5 separate regions of the Homo sapiens genome follow, and regions 1, 2, 3 and 5 are each linked to region 4. The links are contacts of gene promoters, found by promoter capture Hi-C in human tissues and cell types (Jung and others, 2019). All regions are on one chromosome and are shown on one strand. Each heading gives the region's core, a stretch centred on a gene start or on the middle of the fragment in contact. The rest is flanking DNA. Distances are from core to core; before and after follow the strand shown.

Region 1 (2,700 bases), core at 63-2,562, 390 kb after region 4:
AAAAAAATTAGCCGGGCATGGTGGCGGGCACCTGTAGTCCCAGCTGCTTGGGAGGCTGAGGCAGGAGAATGGCGTGAACCCGGGAGACGGAGCTTGCAGTGAGCTGAGATCACGCCACTGCACTCTAGCTTGGGCGACAGAGCGAGACTCTGTCTCAAAAAAAAAAAAAAGTGATAAAATACACATAAAATTTATCATTTTAACTATTTTTTATTTTTATTTATTTATTTTTAAATTTTTATTTTTTTGAGATGGCGTCTTGCTCTGTCGCCCAGGCTGGAGTGCAATGGCGTGATCTCGGCTCACTGCAACCTCTGCCTCCCGGGTTCAAGCGATTCTTCTGCCTCAGCCTCCCAAGTAGCTGGGACTACAGGCGCCTGCCACCATACCCAGCTAATTTTTATGCTTTTAATAGAGATGGGGTTTCACCATGTTGGCCAGGATGGTCTCAATCTCTTGACCTTGTGATCCGCCCGCCTTGGCCTCCCAAAGTGCTGGGATTACAGGCGTGAGCCACCATGCTCGGCCTATTTTTTTTCTTTTCTTGGTATGGGGGATCTCACTACGTTGCCCATGCTGGACTCAAACTCCTGGGCCTCCCTAGCAGCTCCGACTACAGGTGCACGCCACTGCACCGGGTGTGCTGTAACCATTTTCGAGTGTACAATGTGTGGCATTTAGCACATTCCCAGTGCTGCGTAGCCGTCAGCACCCCTGCATCAGAACACTTCACTGCCTCCAAGAAAACCCCATGCCCATTAAACAGCCACACCACCCTCCTCCACCCCCCTGGTCCTGGTAACCTCGGTTCCACCTTCTTTTGTGAATCTGGCTGTCGTAGATGCCTCCTGCCAGTGGAACACACAGCCTGTGACCCTTCATGTCTGGCTTCTTCCACCAAGCATAGGTCTCCAGGTTCATCTGCATCACAGCATGTCTCCGTACTTCCTTCCTCTTTACGGCTGAATAATATTCCACTTTATGGATATACCACATTTTACCCATACATTCATGAATGGATATTTGGGTTGTTTCCACCTTTTGGCTTTTTTTTTTTTTTTTTTTTTGAGCCAGAGTCTCGCGCTGTCGCCCAGCCTGGAGTGCAGTGGCGCGATCTTGGTTCACTGCAAGCTTCGCCTCCCGGGTTCACGCCATTCTCCTGCCTCAGCCTCCTGAGTAGCTGGGACTACAGGCGCCCGCCATCATGCCTGGCTAATTTTTTTGTATTTCTTAGTAGAGACAGGGTTTCACCGTGTTAGCCAGGATGGTCTTGATCTCCTGACCTTGTGATCTGCCTGCCTCAGCCTCCCAAAGTGCTGGGATTACAGGTGTGAGCCACTGTGCCTGACCGGCTTTTTTTTTTTTTTTTCTTAAATAGAGACAGAGGCCAAGCACAGGGGCTCAATAGTTGTAATCCCAGCACTTTGGGAGGCCGAGGCGGGTGGATCACCTGAGGTCAGGAGTTTGAGACCAGCCTGGCCAACATGGCGAAACCCTGCCTCTACTAAAAATACAAAAATGGGGGCCAGGTGCGGTGACTCACGCCTGTAATCCCAGCACTTTGGGAGGCCGAGGCGGACAGATCCCCTGAAGTCAGGAATTCAAGACCAGCCTGGCCAACATGGCAGAACCCTGCCTCTACTGAAAATACAAATATTAGCCGGGCATGGTGGCACGCGCCTGTAATCCCAGCTACTCGGGAGGCTGAGGCAGGAGAATCACTCAAACCTGGGAGGCGGAGGTTACAGTGAGCTGAGACTGCGCCACTGCACTGCAGCCTGACGACAGAGCTACAAACACAAAAAATTAGCCACGCATGGTGGCACACACCTATAATCCCAGCTACTTAGGAGGCTGACACAACAGAATCACTTGAACCTAGGAGGCAGAAGTTGCAGTGAGCTGAGACCGCGCCATTACACTCCAGCCTGGGCAACAAGAATGAAACCCGGTCTCAAAATAAATAAATAAATAAATAAATAATATAAAATAAATAAATAATTAGAGACAGGGTCTCGCTCTGTGGTGGGGTTGGAGTGCAGTGATGCAATCATGGCTTGCTGCAGCCTCAACCTCCTTGGCTCAAGTGATCCTCCTGCCTTGGCCTCCCAAGTAGCTGGGAATAGAGGTGCCTGCCACCATGCCTGGCTAATTAAAACAAATTTTTTTTGTAGAGATGGGGTCCCATCCTATTGCCCAGGGTGGTCCTTTAGCTATTATAAACAATGCTGTTATACACATTCCTTTTTTTCCCAAGACAGAGTCTCACTCCATCGCCCAGGCTGGAGTGCAGTGGTGTGATATTGGCTCACTGCAACCTCCGCCTTCCGGGTTCAAGCGATTCTCCTGCCTCAGCCTCCTGAGTAGTTGGGAATACAGGCGTGCCCACCATGCCTGGCTAATTTTTGCACTTTTAGTAGAGATGGGGTTTCACCATGTTGGCCAGGCTGGTCTTGAACTCCTGACCTCAGGTGATCTGCCCCCCCTCAGCGTCCCAAAATGCTGGGATTGCAGGCGTGAGCCACTGTGCTTGGCCACACACATTCTTTTGTTTGAACATCTGTTTTAAATTCTTTGGGACATATACCTAGGACCAGAGTTGCTGGGTAATATGGTAACTTTTTTTGATTTTTTTGAGACAGAGTCTTGCTTTGTTGCCCAGGTTGGAGTGCAGTGACATGATACTAGCTCACTGCAACC
Region 2 (2,854 bases), core at 338-2,837, 370 kb after region 4:
TTGTTGCCCAGGCTGCAGTACAATGGCACAATCTCGGCTCACCGCAACCTCCGCCTCCCAGGTTCAAGCGATTCTCTTGCCTCTGCCTCCCGAGTAGCTGAGATTACAGGCATGTGCCACCATGCCCGACTAATTTTTTTTTTTTTTTTGAGATGGAGTTTCCTTCTTGTTGCCCAGGCTGGAGTGCAATGGCACGATCTCGGCTCACTGCAACCTCAGCCTCCCGAGTAGCTGGAATTACAGGCATGCATCACCATGCCTGGGTAATTTTTTGTATTTTTAGTAGAGATGGGGTTTCTCCATGTTGGCCAGGCTGATCCACCCTCCTCGGCCTCCCAAAGTGCTGGAATTACAGGCGTGAGCCACCGCGTCTGGGCTAATTTTGTATTTTCAGTAGAGACAGGGTTTCTCCATGTTGGTCAGGCTGGTCTTGAACTCCCAACCTCAGGTGATCCGCTCACCTTGGCCTCCCAAAGTGTTGGGTTTACAGGCATGAGCCACCACACCCAGCCCAGAATTTTTTAAGCTTTATTAACTACAACACTCGGCAGAAGTTGAGTGTCTGTAATCAACATAGGGAATATATTTTCTAAGTGCTACAGGACTGCACACAGACATGCATGGAGACATGATTACCCACCAGTAAACAAGAATACATTCCACTGATGCCCTTAGTATTCCCATTCTTTTTTTTTTTTTGAGAGACGGAGTCTTGCTCTGTCGCCCAGGCTGGAGTGCAGTGGCGCGATCTCCACTCACTGCGAGGTCTGCCTCCCGGGTTCACACCATTCTCCTGCCTCAGCCTCCCAAGTAGCTGGGACTACAGGTGCCTGCCACCACGCCCGGCTAATTTTTTTGTATTTTTAGCAGAGACAGGGTTTCACTGTGTTAGCCAGGTTGGTCTCGATCTCCTGACATCGTGATCTGCCCGCCTGGGCCTCCCAAAGTGCTGGGATTACAGGCATGAGCCACCGTGCCCGGCCAGTATTCCAATTCTAACAGGTGAATGAATTAATACATAAAGTCCTCTCTTGATATAATGCATTAGTAAGTTTGGAGCAATGAATTATTAAATCATAAAAATATTTTATCTATGGCAAAATAGGTTCAACAGAATAAACTTAAAAATTAAGCTGGGCACGGTGGCTCACACCTGTAATCCCAGCACTTTGGGAGGCGGAGGCGGGCGGATCACTTGAGGTCAGCAGTTTGAGACCAGCCTGGCCAACATGGTGAAACCCCATCTCTACTAAAACTACAAAAATTAGCCAGGCATGGTGGCGGGCACCTGTAATCTCAGCTACTTGGGAGGCTGAGGCAGGAGAATCACTTGAACCCGGGAGGCAGAAGTTGCAGTGAGCCAGGACAGCGCCATTGCACTCCAGCCTGGGCAACAGGAAGGAAACTCCATCTCAAAAAAAAAAGAAAGAAAAAAGGAATTACCTTAGATAATCTTAATCTGGTCTTTTAAATCAGTAAGCTTTTAAAAAATGGGTCTTTCTCAGAATTCTAATTTAAGAAGACATAAATAAGGAAATACTTCCACTTAATCTTTTTTTTTTTTTTTTTTTTTGTGAAACGGAGTCTCGCTCAGTCACCCAGGCTGGAGTGCAGTAGCACGATCTCGGCTCACTGCAAGCTCCGCCTCCCGGGTTCACGCCATTCTCCTGCCTCAGCCTCCCAAGTAGCTGGGACTACAGGCGCCCGCCACCACACCCAGCTAATTTTTTTGGTATTTTTAGTAGCAATGGGGTTTCACCGTGTTAGCCAGGATGGTCTCAATCTCCTGACCTCGTGATCCGCCCACGTCGGCCTCCCAAAGTGCTGGGATTACAGGCGTGAGCCACCGTGCCCGGCCCACTTAATCTTAAAAAAAAAAAAAAGCAAGCAAGCAACATTGCTCTATAAAACAGAAAGCTTTTCTACCACTGAAAGCCAGGAGTAATTTCCACTGATTACCATGGCACCCAATGGTAGGCACTGACACAAGAACAAGAGGCTAAAAGGTTTAAAAAAGCTTTCAGCATTCCGGCAGGGCACGGTGGCTCACGCCTGTAATCCTAGAACTTTGGGAGGCTCAGACAGGCAGATCACCGGAGGTCAGGAGTTCAAGACCAGCCTGGCCAACATGGTGAAACCCCATCTCTACTAAAATAAAATTTTAAAAAATTATCCGGGCATGACGGCGGGTGCCTGTAATCCCAGCTACTCGGGAGGCTGAGACTGGAGAATCACTTGAACCCGTGAGATGGTGGTTGCAGTGAGCCGAGATTGCGCCACTGCACTCCAGACTGGGTGGCTGAGTGGGACTCTGTCTCACAAAAAAAGCTTTCAGCATTCCACTAATCCACTAGCAAACTCAAATGTCTATAGATTGTCTCTATTTCTTCAATCAAAGTTCTAGAACAAAATGCATAGCTTTGAAATAGGTGGTGCTCTGTCCCTCTCCCAGAGCAGCTGATGTGATGTTGCATTTCTCTCTCTTCATACACACTCACTCCCATATACGTTGGCCCTGCTTTTTCTTTCAGTAATGTTGAACACTGCAGTTTCATAAATTTCTGATAGTTTCCATTTTAAATTTATTTTATCTCCTCATTCTGTGTTCCTAAACCAAACACTTAACTGAATTGCCTACTTCATAATCTCTCCAACCACTCTTAACAAATGCAAACCTGAAATCAGAATGTAAACCAGTTTAAAATTTTTTTTATTTTTATTTTTTGAGACGGAGTCTCGCTGTGTCGCCCAGGCTGGAGTGCAGTGGCCGATCTTGGCTCACTGCAAGCTCCCCCTCCCGGGTTCCTGCCATTCTCCTGCCTCAGCCTCCTGAGTAGCTGGGATTACAGGTGCC
Region 3 (2,806 bases), core at 74-2,573, 380 kb before region 4:
CCCACATGGGGAGCTGTCCATCTGTGAGGTCAGACCTGGGCTGCGGGCTTGGCCACCGCTGGATGCCAGCCAGACCTGCCCCTCTGACTTTTCTTGCTCTTTTCTCTCTGCTTTTCCGAGGCCGGCTTTCCGCGAGGCACTTACTTGAAAATGGAGCCCCGGCATTCCTGCATGCACGGACACTAAATCCAAGGCCAGCTCCTCTCTCAGAGCAGAAGTTAAAAATTATTCAATGCCAAATTCCTGGGCTGTGGAGCAGTAGTGGTTGTACCAGGCAAAGGTTCCCGCCGCCTTCCGCCGGCCGGGCAGAGATAAGACCATGAGGGCGCCCGGGGGAGTCCGCGCCTGGCCCACACTGCCCTCCGCCGTCCTGGGACCAGGCCCACACCGCCCTCCGCCCTCCCAGGACCAGGTAGGACTGAGGCTCTGTGGGTCTGACCCACAGCGTCTGGGAGGTTTTGTCTCAAGGGCTGGTGGCTTCTGATGAGCCGAAAGCCCCCGCACCCACGGCCCCACAAAGCTTTTCTTCCGGGACCAGCCCCTCCCCAGTCGCCTGGCCAAGGCCCAGCCCTTAGGGGCCTCCATGGTGTGCTGGGGAGGACCTGGGGGTCCCGCTGGTGAGCCCAGGGCACAGTTGTGGCAGGCGGAGCCCGCGGGGAGGGCAAGGCCTCAGAAGAGGAGGGATTCAGCCGGAGGGCCTTCCCCAGGGCTGGCGGCTTCTGCTATTGGCTGGGGGGTGGTGAGGGTCAGCTGGGGCCTGCAGGGCTGTGCTGGCCAGGTGGGCCGGGCCTGGGGTCCCACAGCCTGAGCGGAGATGCCTGGAGGGGGCCACAGGGTGACCATGTGCCCCCCGGGAGAAGCTGGGGTCTTGGGTCCCCGTGATGATTATGGGTGTCTGGGGGTTCCTGTAGGAAAAGATGGCTGCGAAGGCCCCAGAGTTCCTCGGGGCCTGTGAATGACCCAGCCAGGGGGCCCTCAGAGGGGGAGAGAGACTGAGAAGCCATGATTTACATTTCCTGGCAGAGAGCTCTTGCAGGGAAACCAAATTTATTCCAGTTGACAAGGTGCGTGGGCATTGGGAACAACGTGGGTGGGGGCACAGCCTCCTCTGTCCCGGCCGAAATCCAGTCCTGCAGAGATTTGGAGCACAGAGCATCAGGGCCGCCTGTGAGGCACAGAGCGAATGGGGCACCAGCCTGCCCTCGGCCTCAGACACGGAGAGGCTCCCACGGCACTGAGCCACGCATGGCCACGCGACAGAGGGACAGAATGCCGTGGCCGTGTAGGGGAGCTGCACTCTGCGTGGCCCTGGGATGGGAAAATCCAGGGAAACAGACACTGTTATGGATGTGAGCATCGGCTGCCAGAACGAGAGGAAGCAGAAGAGGGGAAAAGGCCGATTATCGTAGAAGAGTTAGGAAAATCAATCAAAGATACCCCCTTGAGAACAGTTAAGTTCACAGCTGTGAGTTCTGGAAACCTTTATGTTTTAAAAATGATTCCGAGGACTCAGAGGGTAAAGCTCGCACCAACTTAATTTGTTATTGCCTTTTCTATCAAAGTTATGCTTGTGGCCGGACACAGTGGTTCGCATTTGGGAGGTCAAGGCGGGCGGATCACTTGAGGTCAGGAGTTCGAGACAAGCGTGGTCAGCATGATGAAACCCTGTCTCTACTAAAAATACAAAAAAATTAGCTGGATGTGGTGGCGGGCACCTATAATTCCAGCTACTCTGGAGGCTGAGGCAGGACAATCGCTTGCACCTGGAAGGCGGAGGTTGCAGTGAGCTCAGATGGCACCATTGCCCTCCAGCCTGGGCAACAGAGTGAGACTCTGTCTCAAAAAAAAAAAAAAAAAAAAAAAAAAAAAACCAGTTATGCCTGTAGGTTGCTTGAGAGTCAAACACTTCTGCAAGGCTTGGACACATATGATCTTCAGGCCGCGCCGAGGCCACCAGCTCCGTGTGCTGGGAGGCTCCTGTGTTTACTTCCAACGTCACTGGCAAACGGCAGCTTCTCAGCACTCCAGCTTCAGGGTCAGCCCTGAATCTGCCCTGTGGAAGGGGCTGTTTGCCGCCCTCCCACCTCTCGTCCCGCCGTCACGCGCCGCGCCTGGTCTCTGCTGTCACTCTGCTGGGCGCCGGGGACTAGCTTGGTGCCAGGTCCACCGTGGCCGCCTGTTCTCACCCGAACTCTGAGCTGTTTCCCTGAAGTTAATAATCGCCTTTGCTTTTCTTCTTGCTTAGCTTTCTCTGAACTCATTACTAATTCAGCCTCAGACTCTCCCCCATGACTTAAATTCCGGCACGCCAGGTATTTCTGAGGGGCCTCCGGGAGCCTCCTGCCCTGCCCGGGGCTGGTCGGCTCCCTCGGGCCTGGGGCAGGGCTGGCGTCTTGCAGGCTTCGTGGTCCGTGTCACAAAGGTCCCATTGCTTCTCCCCTGGGTGGGATTTTCCCGGGCCCCACACCTCCCCTTTCTTGTCTTCTCAGTGTTTTGGTGGAACAAGCCCCTCGCAGCTCCCCGTGAGGTGCAGGGGGTGGGCCCCCACCACGCCCACAGCTGCAGCTGCCTGTGAAGGGCACAGGGCGGGCCCCCACCAAGGCCTTCGCTTCCCTGCGAGTTGAGAAAACCTCGCCGCAGGGTCCCCGGCTCCCGAGGCTGCTGTGGGTCCGGCAATGGCATCCCAACCCCGGGGCCTTGGTATGGAACCTGTTTCTGCGGGTTTTTTCCTGAAAGTTTTTGGGGCCTTCTTTTTGTCTCCATCTCTGCTGTCCTGTGAAGGTGGATCTTTGTGTGGTTCCGTTTT
Region 4 (2,700 bases), core at 174-2,673:
CCACCTCGGCCTCCCAAAGTGCTGGGATTACGGGTGTGAGCCACCGCGCCTGGCCGGCATTTTCTGGCTTTTTTTTTTTTTTTTGACAGAGTCTGACTCAGTCGCCCAGACTGGAGTGCAGTGACGAGATCTCGGCAGCTCACTGTGTTATATGTAAATTTTCTGTGCCGCCAAAGAAGTAGAACTCGAATATAAATTTTTCTCAGCTAGATAATTTACTTCTATAGAAGGGGACATCTCATAGATGGAGCAATGGCGAGCGCTTGGACAAGGGAGGGGAAGGGGTTCTTATTCCTGACGCGGGTAGCCCCTACTGCTGTGTGGTTCCCCTATTGGCTAGGGTTAGAATGCACAGTCTAAACTAGTGCCCATTGGCTATTTTAAAGGGAGCAGGAGTATGGGCCAGAGTGGCGGGGTGAGTGGTTTGGCGGGAAAAATGGTTATGGGACAGGTAACTAAAGGTGACTCAGGTCAAAGCAGGAGACCGGGATTAGTTAGGACGGAGCAGGTGACCAGGGCAACAGATGTCAACTACTGACTAGAACTGGTGGAAAAGGTTGTTTACTGAAACTGCGAGGAAGGTAGACTTTAAAATGCAGGACAAAGACTGAACATACTGATATACTGATTCTTTGAAGGGAAGTTTAGAACTCATTGTATCTAACATTATTCAGGCTTAAAACAGTTTCCAATCCAGTGGGAAAAGTCACTCCATATATTCCGTGAAGTCAACCAGTTCCATCAAGGAGAAAGTCAGGGCCGCTGGGAGCGCGTGGACCGTGGGCTCCGGGGCGGCGCCTGCCCGGGCACCCCGGCCCCGTCCACGCCCCGCAAGAGGAGCTCGCTGGCCCCGCCACGCGGGAAGGGGTCGCCCCGGGGTCTTGGGCGGGAGGGCCGTGCGGGCTGCGGAGACACCGAGGAGGGGAGGCGCCTCTCCTGAGCTCTTGGCGCAGCGACCCCAGGGCGCCGACTCATCGCGGAAGGGCTCGGCTTGCCCGGGCGCCGGTGCCGCCTCGGGTGAGGTTCCCGCGAGACTCTTCTCTGCGTCCTGGACTCACCGCAGGGCGCCCCGCCGCACGGATCGAGAACCTTGGGGCTCCCTGGAAACTTGCCACCCGCTGCCGCCAAGGCCGGAACTCCTCGGAGCCCCTAGCAACGGAGCCCCTAGCAACGGAGCCCACGCGGATGCGGCGCGGGGCTGACGCTGCCTTGGGTTCGCCTACGTCCCTCGGGAATTTTGTCCCGGCGTGGCTCCCGTAGCCAGATGCTTCGCCGCTCCCGCCCCGCTGGCTCCCAAAGCCTGTTCGGCAGTCGCGGCGCCGTCGCTATGGCGTCACTGTCCTCGGGGCCAATCCAAGGGCTGCGCGCGTGTCCCTTACGCGCTTCTATCGCCGGGAGGAAGGGGTGTGTGTGGCGCCTGCGCAGTGGCGGTGACCACCGGCTCGCGGCGCGTGGAGGCTGCTCCCAGCCGCGCGCGAGTCAGACTCGGGTGGGGGTCCCGGCGGCGGTAGCGGCGGCGGCGGTGCGAGCATGTCGTGGCTCTTCGGCATTAACAAGGGCCCCAAGGGTGAAGGCGCGGGGCCGCCGCCGCCTTTGCCGCCCGCGCAGCCCGGGGCCGAGGGCGGCGGGGACCGCGGGTTGGGAGACCGGCCGGCGCCCAAGGACAAATGGAGCAACTTCGACCCCACCGGCCTGGAGCGCGCCGCCAAGGCGGCGCGCGAGCTGGAGCACTCGCGTGAGTGCGGCGGGGCGGGGCGGCGCGGGCGGGCGGGCGGGACGGGCCGGGGAAGCGGGAGCCCTGGCCCTTGCCGCTCCTCGCCGCTGTCGGCAGCCACTTCCCGGGCGAGACTGCGCCCCCGGAGCACCCCCGGCCGGAGCCGTGTCGCGTGCCGGGAGGATCGGACTCTTTCCGTCACCCGTTTGCACCTCTGCAGCTGTCAGGAGCGGGTCAGGTGCGGAAAGCGGTGCGGAGGTGGCGCTCATAGGTTACAGGGGTCAGGGTCTGGGGCTGGCCGTGGTCTTCAGTTACCGCCGAGCGTGCGGGATCCTTCTGCGCTTGCCGCCTCCACGTGGCACAGGCCAAGGCGTGGCCAGATGGGTAGATGGGTTTGTTGGGTGGTTGCTAGCAGTTTCCACGTAACAAGGGAAGCGTATTTGAGAGTTACTTGATTCTAACGAGACTAGCAGATTTGCACTTCTTGTTGGAAGACGTTAGCATTTGCACGGCGAGGTCTGTGAAGCCACAGGCCAGGCCGTGCTGCTCAGCTTGAGTAAACCCCTGACCCAAGGCCCTCAGGGTGTGAGCACTCACCATGTTGTTCAGGCTGGTCTTGAATTCTGGCCTCAGGTGATTCGCCCACCTCGGCCTCCCAAAGCGCTGGGATGACAGGCGTGAGCCGCTGCTCATGGCCTTCCTCGGTAATTTTAACCATCAGGTTAGGATGGGAATCAAGGGCTGGACTTCAGGGCACCTCGGAGGACAGCGGATGTTGGTGACTGACTTTCTTGCTGCAGGCTTATTTGGAGGGTTCCTTTGTGTCCTAGTTCCTGGGGGTTTTCACCCGCTAACTTCACTTAGAGATTGAAACTTCTCCCACTTCCAGAAGCTGAATCGTAGTGATCAGCCTGCGGCCCCCTGCAGTGGTACAGGCCTGGTTGAGCAGCCTCAGGCCGCCTCCCCATAGTGCAGACCTGTGCCTC
Region 5 (2,851 bases), core at 118-2,617, 400 kb before region 4:
CAGCACCGTCCACCACAGCCACCATGTCTCGACACCGTTCACCACAGCCACCATGTCTCAGCAGCACCGTCCACCACAGCCACCATGTCTCGGCAGCACCGTCCACCACAGCCACCATGTCTCGGCACCATTCACCACAGCCACCATGTCTCGGCACCGTCCACCACAGCCACCATGTCTCGGCACCGTTCACCACAGCCACCATGTCTCAGCAGCACCGTCCACCACAGCCACCATGTCTCGGCAGCACCGTTCACCACAGCCACCATGTCTCAGCACCATCCACCACGGCCACCATGTCTCAGCAGCACCGTCCACCACAGCCACCATGTCTCGGCAGCACCGTTCACCACAGCCACCATGTCTCGGCACCGTTCACCACAGCCACCATGTCTGCAGCAGCATTGTTCACCACAGCCACCATGTCTCGGCACCATCCACCACGGCCACCATGTCTCAGCAGCACCGTCCACCACAGCCACCATGTCTCGGCAGCACCGTCCACCACAGCCACCATGTCTCGGCAGCACCGTTCACCACAGCCACCATGTCTCAGCACCATCCACCACGGCCACCATGTCTCAGCAGCACCGTCCACCACAGCCACCATGTCTCGGCAGCACCGTTCACCACAGCCACCATGTCTCGGCACCGTTCACCACAGCCACCATGTCTGCAGCAGCATTGTTCACCACAGCCAAAAGGTGGGAGCAAGTGTCCACCCACAGATGAATGGATAAACAAAAGGTGGTCTATACAGACCGTGGAATATTCTACAGTCCTGAAAAGAAATTTTGGACGCATGCTACAACAGGAATGAACCTTGAAAACACTATGCTAAGTGAAAGCAGCTCATCACAACAGGACAAATACTGTATGATTCTACTCATGAGGTTCCCAGGGTTGTCGAATTCATAGAGACAGAAAAGACAACGGTGGTTGCCAGGGGCTGGGGGGCAGGGAGGAATGGGGAGTTAGTGTTTAATGGGAACAGTTTCCTTTCCTTTTTCCTTTCCTCTTTTCTCCTTTCTTTCCTTTCCTCCTTTTTAAAATTTCTTTCTTTCTTTTAGAGATGGGTTTGCTCTGTTGCCCAGGCTGGAGTGCAGTGGTGCAATCATAGCTCACCGCCATCTTGAACTCCTGGGCTCAAGCAACTCTCCCGCCTCAGCCTCCCAAGTAGCTAGGACTACATGCCTGCCACCATATCTGGCTAATTTTATTTTTATTTTTTGGTAAAAAGGGTGTCTTGCTGTGTTTCGCAGGCTGGTCTTGAACTCCTGGGCTCAAGCGCTCCTCTCTCCTGTCTTAATGCATGTGTACTAGATAAACATGCATGTAACGCAGGACCCATGTTCACTGAGAGGTGAGATTTCACATTTACATGTAAGACAATTAGGCCCTATATGGCCAAAGGTGAGGCGCGGCCCGGGAGTCACTCCAGTCACATCCTCCATAGACCAGCAGAACCAGTCCGTGGCCAGTGGTGTCTTATCAGGAGGAAGTTATGGAAAGTGACGCTGTAGTTATGGCCGTGAAATGGGGGGTCAGTTAGTGCCTGGCAGCGAGCCATCACTGTTTCCATACCGCTTGTCTCAGGCCAGTGCCTGCTTAACTGCTAGAGGAAAAGAAAACCCAAGCCTTATTCTTTAACTGTAAGGGTGTGTGACTTAACCCCGGCCTGGCACGGCCTTAGGTCCTGATTATAACTCGGCGTCTTATTGCCGCAGAGTCTGTCAGTCTCGTGATCTCCACTTTAACACTAATGTTGGTCAGTTGTGTCTAAACTGAAAAAGGGTGGCAGTATAACCAGGTGTGTCCAACCTCCCATCCTTTTATGGCCGGAAACTCAATTTTTAAGGTTTCTCTGGGGTCCCCTTGACCAAGAGGGAGCTCGTTCAGTCGGCGGGGGACTTAGGATTTTATTCTTAGTTTACAACATCAGTAATAAAATTAATAGGCAAATCAAAGAATGGGAGATAGTCACAGTACACGTACCAGACAAAAGCCCTGAATATGGAATATATAAAGGACTTTCACAATCTGGTCATCAAAAAAATGGGCAAAAGACATCCTCGGACACTCAGAAAACGTGTGCGAATGGCAACAGATGAGTGGACAGTGCTCAACACGGGTGAGCGTCAGGGAAATGCAAACTAAAGCCTCCACGACCAAACGGCACTCAGCCTCTCGGCTGTGGGGACACACAGAACCGCTGGGACTTCCACACCTGGGATGCAGCCTTCCCCCCGGGCACGTTCCCAAGAGAAACAACACACGCCCGCCAAACACGTGCACAAAAATAGGCCCAACTCTTCAGACAGCGGAAACCCACCCGGGCGCCCTCAGAGACGACGAGCACGCAACAGCGCATCCCACACCCACTCCTTGTGCAGCACCTCAGAGGAAGCTCAACAACAGTTCTCTGCGTGAGCCGTGGCAGACGCAAAACCGCCCGCACGTGTGACTCCTAACACTCAGAGTGTCGGTAAAATCACAGCAGCGCTCCTGTCTGGCGCGGCAGGCGGGCGCTGGAGCAGCCTGCGAGGCAATCTCCATGGATCACAGGCAGATTCTACATCACGACAGGAGTCTGGTGAATCCTTTGTCAAAACAATTGAACTGGACACAAGCTCTGTGTGTTTCACTGCATGTAAATTATGCCTTAGTAACTAAACACATGCATTTTCTATTTTGAAAATCTCATTGGAGCCAAAAAGCTAAATAATGGGATGAAAATTTCTACAAGGCAATGAAAAATTTAGTGAGAATTTAAATTGTGCTATACACTCTTTGACCACTCTTATTTTCCCTTAGAAGAACTGGTTTCAGGGCAGGTGTGGAGGCTCAGGCC

Evidence for each region. The method cuts DNA at HindIII sites, captures the fragments that hold promoters and counts their contacts. A contact is called where the count stands out against the background at its distance.
Region 1: a fragment that was not itself captured here is called in contact with the fragment with the promoter of ATAD3A in region 4 in 1 of the 25 tissues and cell types used here (spleen).
Region 2: a contact is called between a fragment that was not itself captured here and the fragment with the promoter of ATAD3A in region 4, in 5 of the 25 tissues and cell types used here (aorta, dorsolateral prefrontal cortex, lymphoblastoid cells and 2 more).
Region 3: a fragment that was not itself captured here is called in contact with the fragment with the promoter of ATAD3A in region 4 in 1 of the 25 tissues and cell types used here (lymphoblastoid cells).
Region 5: a contact is called between a fragment that was not itself captured here and the fragment with the promoter of ATAD3A in region 4, in 2 of the 25 tissues and cell types used here (aorta and dorsolateral prefrontal cortex).

What each region holds. Positions count from the first base shown.
Region 1 is chr1:1,902,468-1,905,167 of GRCh38, forward strand. No RefSeq gene overlaps it. Among named protein-coding and RNA genes, the nearest start is that of CALML6, 11 kb to the right of the region's middle. The HindIII fragment of the contact is 7,236 bases long and covers 1-2,700 here.
Region 2 is chr1:1,884,000-1,886,853 of GRCh38, forward strand. The region is part of intron 1 of GNB1 (G protein subunit beta 1); the gene reads right to left. Among named protein-coding and RNA genes, the nearest start is that of GNB1, 5.7 kb to the right of the region's middle. The HindIII fragment of the contact is 4,669 bases long and covers 1-2,854 here.
Region 3 is chr1:1,128,347-1,131,152 of GRCh38, forward strand. It overlaps LOC124903819 (a long non-coding RNA gene), which reads right to left and starts at 638. Exons shown (of 2, transcript XR_007065349.1): 1 at 145-638. It overlaps LOC124903820 (a long non-coding RNA gene), which reads left to right and starts at 338. Exons shown (of 3, transcript XR_007065351.1): 1 at 338-412. The HindIII fragment of the contact is 3,193 bases long and covers 1-2,806 here.
Region 4 is chr1:1,510,739-1,513,438 of GRCh38, forward strand. ATAD3A (ATPase family AAA domain containing 3A) reads left to right here and starts at 1,424. Exons shown (of 16, transcript NM_001170535.3): 1 at 1,424-1,735. The coding sequence starts at 1,531. RefSeq lists silencers at 732-931, 1,382-1,541 and an enhancer at 1,172-1,231. The HindIII fragment of the contact is 15,639 bases long and covers 1-2,700 here.
Region 5 is chr1:1,108,418-1,111,268 of GRCh38, forward strand. All of the region lies in intron 1 of C1orf159 (chromosome 1 open reading frame 159), which reads right to left. Among named protein-coding and RNA genes, the nearest start is that of C1orf159, 6.2 kb to the right of the region's middle. The HindIII fragment of the contact is 6,974 bases long and covers 1-2,851 here.